3 separate regions of the Homo sapiens genome follow, and regions 2 and 3 are each linked to region 1. Evidence: promoter capture Hi-C in 16 types of primary human blood cells and fetal thymus (Javierre and others, 2016). All regions are on one chromosome and are shown on one strand. The core of a region is centred on a gene start or on the middle of the fragment in contact, and the rest is flanking DNA. Distances in the headings are between cores, read along the strand shown.

The links. The method cuts DNA at HindIII sites, captures the fragments that hold promoters and counts their contacts. A CHiCAGO score of 5 or more calls a contact.
Region 2: a contact is called between a fragment that was not itself captured here and the fragment with the promoter of NPAP1 in region 1, in 1 of 17 cell types (M2 macrophages). The highest score is 5.1, in M2 macrophages.
Region 3: a contact is called between the fragment with the promoter of PWAR4 here and the fragment with the promoter of NPAP1 in region 1, in 6 of 17 cell types (total B cells, activated CD4 T cells, naive B cells and 3 more). The highest score is 6.5, in total B cells.

Annotation. Positions count from the first base shown.
Region 1 is chr15:24,674,256-24,677,158 of GRCh38, forward strand. It overlaps NPAP1 (nuclear pore associated protein 1), which reads left to right and starts at 1,520. Exons shown (of 1, transcript NM_018958.3): 1 at 1,520-2,903. The coding sequence starts at 1,613. The HindIII fragment of the contact is 3,995 bases long and covers 1-2,903 here.
Region 2 is chr15:25,500,756-25,503,658 of GRCh38, forward strand. It overlaps LINC02250 (long intergenic non-protein coding RNA 2250), which reads right to left. Exons shown (of 5, transcript NR_187215.1): 4 at 330-497. Among named protein-coding and RNA genes, the nearest start is that of UBE3A, 63 kb to the left of the region's middle. The HindIII fragment of the contact is 2,409 bases long and covers 267-2,675 here.
Region 3 is chr15:25,210,296-25,213,198 of GRCh38, forward strand. It overlaps PWAR4 (Prader Willi/Angelman region RNA 4), which reads left to right and starts at 1,397. Exons shown (of 1, transcript NR_022010.1): 1 at 1,397-1,738. SNHG14 (small nucleolar RNA host gene 14) reads left to right here. Exons shown (of 148, transcript NR_146177.1): 102 at 1,312-1,443; 103 at 1,829-1,874. It overlaps SNORD115-23 (small nucleolar RNA, C/D box 115-23), which reads left to right and starts at 1,501; the gene lies at 1,501-1,582. The HindIII fragment of the contact is 4,906 bases long and covers 1-2,903 here.

The sequences.
Region 1 (2,903 bases), core at 270-2,769:
AGGTGACAGTAATGTGTGGTAAAGAGTGGGCCTTGCTGGCATGCGGACAATGACCAAATTGTATTGATCATATTTTAATCGAATACATTGCTCCACTACTGACTTGCAAATACATGATGAATTTGCTTTCTAACATATTCCAAGAAGGCCAGAGAACTGGCTTATCCATTTGGATTAATCCACTGGTGAATTTCTTTCGGGATAGGCCAAAATGGATCTGGACTATAATCTTTACATATTTAGATCCTTCAAACTAGACCAAAAAGGAAATCTGGGCTGCAAGGCTCAATTAGAAGAACAGTGTGGGATGCTGCTTTGCTGACTATTGGGGGTCGCTGCCCCATGTCTTCAGAGGAGACTGGAGCCCAGTGCCTGCCATGACCAACTTATGAGGTGAAGTAAGGGCTTCCCCCTAGGAACGCATGTGCTTAATACAGATGTGCTGTGTGCTAGGTACCCTAAGGACTACAGGAAATAATGAGAATACATGATGTGTCCATAACAAGGAGGCACACAGGCCACGGCACCAGCTCTGGAATCACACAGCCCAGGTTCGAAGCCTGGCTAGGCCACTGTCATATCAATGACCCAAGGAGCAAGCAGCCTAAGGCTTAAATGTTGTTGCTGTTGTTTGTTGTGGTTTTTTGTTTTTGTTTTTGTTTGAGACAAGAGTTTTGCTCTGTTCCCCCAGGCTGGAGTGCAGTGAGGTGATCTCAGCTCACTGCAACCTCCACCTCCCGCTTTCAAGCGATTCTCCTGCCTCAGCCTCCCTAGTAGCTGGGATTACAAGTGCGTGCCACCACGCTCAGTTAATTTTTGTATTTTTAGTAGAGATGGGGTTTCACCATGGTGGTCAGGCTGGTCTCGAACTCCTGACCTCAGGTGATCCACCCGCCTTGGCCTCCCAAAGTGCTGGGATTAAAGGCGTGAGCCACCGCGCCCAGCCTTAAATGTTGTTTAAAACAAATTTGTGAAAAGAAGTGAAGAGGCCCTGCCTGCCAGGAAGAGATGTGGTAGGGCGTAGCATCTAGTCAGGACAAGGCACCACGTCCCCTCCTCGGAAACCCTCACGGCCTGGCTGGTGACCCTGGCGCCACAGAGACGGCACACCTGGCTCCAGGCAGCACAGAGCACTGCCAAGGTCCTAGAGGAGGCTGGCAGGATATAGGTTGTCCTGTGCTTAACTTGAAGCAGATGTGCCCTCTGTGAACCGGGGAATGGGGACGGCCGACACAGGGCCACTGCGTGCAACAGCGCCGGGCCAGGGCTAAGGAACAGGCAGAGCCGGCGCCCAGGTGACAAGAGCTCTGGCGATGGGCCCGCAGGCCCCAGCAGTTCCCTCATAGAGGCCACGCGGTGCAACACCTGCCACCGGCAGCGGGGCTTCCGGGGGTCCTGGGGCAGCTGGGGCCGACGGGGCGTCGCCCTTTGCCCTCTGACCCCTGCCTTTTGCGCCCCCGCTGGCGCTCCCTGGTTCTGTGAGGAACCTCGCGGCGGCGTCGCAGGCGTAGAGCCAGTCAGTTTGTGCTTGGTCGCCAGAGGAGGCGGTGGCTGAGGAGAGTTGAGTCCACTGCTGACCCTGTTTTACGGTAGGAGGCACGGCTAGCTCTAAATGGGCAATTTACTTAGTAAATTTAGACCCGGGTGCCGCCGCCGGCCCCTGCCAGGGCCAGGGCGTGGCGCCCCCGCTCCCCTGTCCCGGGACGCCTCCCCGCCCGGTCGGGCTCACTCTGTACCCACCCCGCGCCCTTTCCGCGGCCTGTTCCGCCGGAACGCCCGTCGCAGGCCTTCAGCAGCCAGCATCTTCGTCGCCCCTAAGAGGCCGTGTCCTCTCCCTCGGGCTGCGGCCGCCCCTCTGGGGGTCCTGCCGGCTGTGGGTTGGGGGCTGGCCATCAGGAAGACACCCATGCTGCCTGCTCGGAACCCCCCGAGGTTTGGACACCCCAGTTCCGTAAGGATCCCTCCTCCCAGCCGCATGTTCACTCTCCTGCTGCCTTCACCACGTGAGCCGGCGGTCAAGGCCAGGAAGCCCATCCCAGCCACTCTCCTGGAGGAGACCGAGGTGTGGGCCCAAGAAGGGCCCAGAAGAGTGAAGAAGGATGAGGATCCGGTGCAGATCGAAGGGGAGGATGACGAGAAAAGGACCCCCCTTAGCAGCGGAGAAGCATCGTCCACATCCAGGTCCCAGGGCACCCAGGGAGACGTGGCCTCCTTCAGATGCAGCCCTGGGCCTCTGGAGGGAAATGTCTACCACAAGTTCTCAGAAAACAGCATGAGTGAGAAGGCCCAGGCGTCTCCAGCGAGCTCCTGCTTGGAAGGCCCTGCCATGCCCAGCACACACAGCCAGGCCGGATGTGCCCGGCATCTTGGAAAGCCTGATCCGGATGCAACAGCGCCCCCTGAGCCAGCCGTTGGCTGCTCCCTGCTGCAGCAGAAGTTGGCTGCGGAAGTGCTGAATGAAGAGCCACCGCCCAGCTCCCTAGGCTTGCCGATTCCGCTGATGTCCGGAAAGAGGATGCCTGATGAGAAGCCTTTCTGTATTCCTCCAAGGAGCGCTGCTCCTCCCAGAGCTGCCCGCAACAGGCCCTGCAAAAGGAAAATGTCGATTCCATTGCTGCTGCCGCTGCCCCCTTCACTGCCATTGCTGTGGGATCGAGGTGAGCTTCCCCCACCTGCTAAGCTCCCCTGCCTGTCTGTTGAGGGAGACCTACACACCTTGGAGAAGAGCCCTGAGTATAAAAGGAATAGCAGAATCTTGGAGGATAAAACAGAGACCATGACAAACAGCAGCATCACCCAGCCTGCCCCTTCTTTCTCCCAACCTGTGCAGACCACAGACTCCCTGCCCCTGACCACTTACACTTCCCAGGTCTCAGCTCCTTTGCCCATCCCTGACTTGGCTG
Region 2 (2,903 bases), core at 221-2,720, 830 kb after region 1:
ATACCTAACAGTTCTATTTATGACCTTGTTGGGTCCAACTACCTTAATAAGTATTTATGTCCTAACAACTTAGGAGCTGGGTAAAAAATAATATGTACAAATTGGAAGAAAATAAATCATATTTTATTGTAATATTAAATAACCACAATTATTTACTAATGATATGTAGGTGCATCAGTTGGGCACTAGCAATATGTAAAACCTTGGAATTAGATAGGACATATCACTTTTTCCCCCACAACTATCACAACAGTCACCAAAAACCAAGCTTTGCAAAGATATGACATCATGGAAGGAAATTTAGCAACCTAATGTTAAAACCAATTTACCTGGAGCTAGCAGTTCCTGAGATGTCCGACAGGCATCCTTGTGTTCTCCTCAAGTATTTAAAAATACCCAGGCACTTCTGCGAGTCCCTTGAGGTGCCTGCCCCTCTGCCTGTTTATGCAAAGCAATGTCCGCTTGCTGGTGGACAGGTCCAGGCAGTGCTTTTTCCTCTGCGCGATATTAGATATGCAGAAAATCATGGATAGGAAGTGCCAAGGAAAAAACGGGGGATAAAAATAGAATGAACCAAAAAAGGAGCTCAAGAAATGTATTTTTAATGCAGTGCCACAAAAATAAGCTCATATTTTACTATGTATTTGACATCAGAATACAATTACAACTGACATCAATTATGTTCTCTATTAGACTTTTCTCTACCTTATACATTTAAGTGTAATCCCAAATGGGGAGAGAACCAGTGCTTTTTAATATAGGTGCTTTCTCAATTTGAAAACTAGAATGGAAGTCATGTTCAGAAGTGTAAAGAATTCTAAGAATTAGGTGGTGGATAAAAGATTGTTAGCAACCAAGAGGTTCCGTTATTTTTTACTTCAAGAATGCTGGTATGTGGAAAATGGAAACCATATTCAACCACTCACTTAAGTTAGCTAAACCCAACATATTACAGCAATTATTAACCCTCTTTCATCTTTCTAATAACAAGACACAAAAATAGTTATAATTTGTAATCAGTAACATGTCATTAGAGGGCTGTTAGTTGATTTTATCTACCAGTGCTTAGGTAGATGGGTTTTGTTGTTGTTTGAATTTCATGTTAATTCAAACGGAATGAAAACTTGGTTTTTGATGAGGACAGAAAGATTTTACATCTCATTTCACTGGTTCTTTTTTCTTCTGAACGTTGGACTTCTATGTGCTTATTTAAAAAAATATGTGGCTACTGCCATCTGTTGGATGGAATGTGAGTCCTGCTCAGACACGTGTGCCCTTTAAACAATGTCTGTCCCTTCTAACTTCACAAGTGTCTCCTCAAGGTAAGGAGACACTTACCTTGAGTGTCTCCTCAAGGTAAGGCCTTTGCTGTAGCTGCATGCATCCCAGCTTCCAGCCCCAGAACTGAGTTCATTTTGGGAACGTTTTCTATTGTTGTGGGGCACTTTCTCTTCAGACATGTAAATGCTCTCTACTGAAGAGTGTGTATATGGTTTTTTATCTTTCCAGTAAAACTTACAGCATAAGGAGGCATGTCGGGGTAGGGAGGGATGTGGCTGGGAGCATGTTTAGGAACAAGCATATTTTTAGCATGGGTAGTAGAGTCTACATTGGACTAATATAGGCAGAGGAATCAAAGTTCAGCTCTAAATTGTGGTGCATACTGAGGCCACTGATTTTATTTCTCTGAGCTGGCATTTCGTCAGCTGTAAGGCAAGAGCAGGACTAGGACTGAGAAAATCTTCTGAGCTGAAGACCCACGCAGCTCTAAGGAGTCATAGTCAAGAACAGCAGACATAACAGCAAATACGAATTTAAGAAATGCCAGTCTAAAAGCACATAAGAACCAATCTACAGGTTATGGGAAACCCATTTTATCTGACTCCCTTCTCTCCCGCTCCTGGGTTCTTATTTTTCTGCTTTTCTTGGGCTCTGATTGTCAGCATCCTCTCTCCTCACCCCTCCCACTCTTTCTTTGTGGAGGGACTGTTCCCTCTCCACTCCCATTGGGCTTTTTTCTTAGTCCTCCCCTCCTCCTCCAGCCCTCAGTCTCGGATGTCTCTGCGCACCTGCCGATTCCGCATTACAAAATTCCAAGAACCGGTCTTAGAAAAACCATCTCTTCTCTGAGGTAGGAAACACATGAAGCTGAACTAGGCAGCACACACTTTGTGTGTGTCCTAGACCAATACACACACACACACACACACACACACACACACACACACACACAGAGCCAAGCACTTCTGGCAGCAAAAGCCTTAAACCCTGTGCATGAATTACTGTGTCCAAGCATTGGTTCCTTCCGGTGGGTTCTTGATGTCGCTGACTTTTAAGAACGAAGCCCCCTACCCTCATGGTGAGTGTTACAGTTCTTAAACATGGTGTGTCAAGAGTTTGTACCACCACATGCTCAGATGTGTCCAAAGTTTCTTCCTTCTGCTGGGTTCGTCGTCTCACTGACTTCAGGAGCGATGCCACAAACCTTCACAGTGAGTGTTAACGCTCTTAAAGGTGGCGCCTACGGAGTCGTTCATTCTGGTGGACTCGTGGTCTCACCGGCTTCAAGAGCAAAGCCAGCTGCAGACCTTCCAAGGGAATGTTACAGCTCTTAACGTATTGTGGACCCACAAAGCGAGCAACAGCAAAATCTATTGCAAATAGCGAAAAATCAAAGCTTCCACACTGTGGAAACTAACCCAACCCACTTGCTGCTGCTGGCTCGGGTTGCCAACTTTTATTCCCTTATTTGGCCCCACCCACATCCTGCTGATTGTTCCATGTTACAGAGAGCTGATTGGTCCATTTTACAGAAAGCTGATTGGTCTGTTTTACAGAGTGCTGATTGGTCCGTTTTTACAGCATGCTGATTGGTGCGTTTATAAACCTTTAGCTAGACACAG
Region 3 (2,903 bases), core at 147-2,646, 540 kb after region 1:
CATCCTGCTGGTGTCATGGGCCATGAGTCAGGCCGCGTGGGGTCACCAAGGGTCAGTCTTTAGGACAGGAGGGTTTCCTCAGGGAGCCAACCTGTATTTCCACCGGGGAGGGATGGTTTCTACAGGAGGGCGGCTTCCTTGGGAACTGGACCCAAGATGTTGCCTTCCTGAAGCCCTGCAGGGATGACAGTGGTCCAGGCAGCAAAGACTTCCTTCAGCCCCGTGCAGGAGAGCTCCCAGCTGAGACTCAGTGCATGTGTCAGGCCTCGAGGATTGCCGAGGCCACATGATGGGGGCCACAGGGCCTCCGGGGCACCACGGGGGTCATGCAAGAGTTCTCTTTCCCTGGAGAGGGGTGCTTGAATGAGCCTATGGGATTGGGCCGTGGAGATTCAAGGATTGTACCCAACTATGTCCCAAAATGGGACTGACCCTGTTGAGCTATGGACCATCCCATGGTGCCTCTTTGAGCTTGGTGGGGGGCAGTGCTGTTTCCCTGGGTTTGGGTCAAGGCTGAGCTCTGGCCAGTGCCTGGTGAGGCTGTGGGCCGGACCTGGGACTCGTGAGCTTTAGGCCAAGTCGACAGCTTGTGTCCTGCTGGAGGTCACCCCTTCCCCATGGGTGAGTGGCTGGAAGAGTGGAATGTGCGGTGGGAAGGCCCGCTGTTGATGGTCCTATCCTGAGAATTTGCTGCCCAGACTCTCTGTGCCATGGGGTCATGTCCAGGGTGGCAGGGTCTTGGGCCTAGGGAAAGGAAAGGACACCATGTGGCCCAGGATTGGCCAAGGGTGGCCCGGATCTGTGTTTGGGACATGTGTGGGGCATGGATGGGGACCCACCAGAGAAAGCACATGGCCCTGGTACTCCAGGCTGTGATTTCAGGTGTGGCTTGGAGAGAGTGCCTGGGCAGGTGCCCACCATGCCCAGCGGCAGGCTATGCAACTTCCATGTCCACGGTGGCACATGGCTTCTGGGCCAGGCTCCTCGGTTGGCCATGAGCATGTCGGTGACCCTGTCCCATGCTCAGTGGTCCTGGGGCAGCCCTGGGATCGTGTGAAGGAGAAGTCAGAGGGGGCACTGGATGTGCCCTCAAGGTCTGCAATAGCATGAAGACCAGGGGTCTTGCCCAAGCCCAGTGATCCACCTGCCCTGTTTTTTCAGGGTTTGGTGATGGGGAGGGCCGAGAGTGCCCTGTATCCGTGACAGGTCAGTGTTCCACATGGATCCCATCACATGGGTATCCCTTACCCCATTCCCCACCTGGAGGTATGAGGCCCTGTTTGGACACATGTCCTCCTCCTGTCCATCCAGATGGTGAGCCTGAAGGAAGACTTGCATCAGGACCAATGGACCCTGGCAAGTGTCCGTCAGCCAGGTGCTCAGCCCCTGGTGCACTGAAGCTCAGGCCCTTCCTGGCCCCTTGATCTCCTGCACTGAGCTGTGGTGAGCACATCCGGGTCCCGCTGGATGTATGTGTGGGCAGGGGGGGTGCCCTGGGTTGGGTCAATGATGAGAACCCTATATTGTGTTGAAGAGAGGTGATGACTTAAAATTACCATGCTCAATGATTACGCTGAGGCCCAACCTAGGTGAGAAATTTGGAGGAGGATGCTGGGATCCCGAGATTTCCGGCAGGGCCACTGTATTTTGGGCTGGAGCCCTGGAGGCCCTGAAAGGTATCTGGAGGAGGCCCAACTCTGTCTCTGCACTCCTCTGTGAGGCAGCCCAGGCTCCCTGTGCGGGCTTGGTGTTGGCCTTTCTGTTCCCCAGTGAAGTGGCACGTGGGTGGCTCCTCCCTGAGCCCCAGTTCTCCCCTTGTGTCTTTCAGTGAGCTCTTCTGCCAAGGGGGGGCCTCCTGGCATTGACCAACATAGGTGAGTGGATCCTGCTGGCATCATGGGCATGGGTTCACTGAGGGTCAGACTTCAGGCCATGAGGGTTTCCTCAGGGAGCTGACCCCAATTCCCATCAGGGAGGGATGGTTTCTCCAGGAGGGCGGCTTCCTTGGGAATCTTACCTGAGGAGGATGCCTTCCCTGAAGATCTGCAGGAATGACAATGGTCCAGATAGCAAAGGGTTCCTTCAGCCCCATGCAGGACATCGCCCAGTTGAGACTTGGTGTGCAGGTCAGGCCTTGAGGACTGCCCAGGCCACATGAGGCGGGCCAGAAGGGCTCCAGGGTGCCACGGGTTTCACTTGGGAGCTCTCGGTCCCCGGGCATGTTCCTGGGGGGGGTGGTGATGGGGTCGGGCCATGGAGGTTCAAGGATCTCATCCCACCTGTGACCCTGAATGGGGCTGATCCTGTTGAACAATGGGCCATCCCAGTGGCACGTATTGAGCCTGGTCAGGGGTGGTGCAGTTTCAATGGGGTTGGGTCAAGGTTGAGATCTGGCCAGCTCCTGGTGGTGCTTCAGGCCAGTCCTGTGACCCATGGGCTTTGGGCTAAGGGGGCATCCCATGTCCCATGGGGGTCACCTGTTCTCCATGTTTGAGTGGCAGTAACAGTGGCATTCTGAGGTGGGAAGGTCCACTGTCTAGGGTGTTGTACCGGGAATTTGCCACCCCGCCTTCTTAGCCAAGGGGTCACCTCCAGGGTCTCGGGATCTTGGGCCCAAGGAAACGAGAAGATACCATGTGGCCCTTGATTGGCCGAGTGTGGCCCAGCTCTGTGTTTGAGAGGTGTGGGATATGAATGGGGTCCCACCAGTGAAAGCTCATGGCCCAGGTCCCCAGGCTGTGATTTTTAGTGCACACTTGGGGAGGGCTCCTCAGTGGGTGCCCACCACGCCCAGAGGCAGGCTATGTGACTGCCAGGTCTGCAACGGTGCATAGCTTCCAGGCTACCCTCCTTGGTTGGCTGGGAGCGGGTTGGTGGCCATGGCCCATGCCCAGTGGTCACAG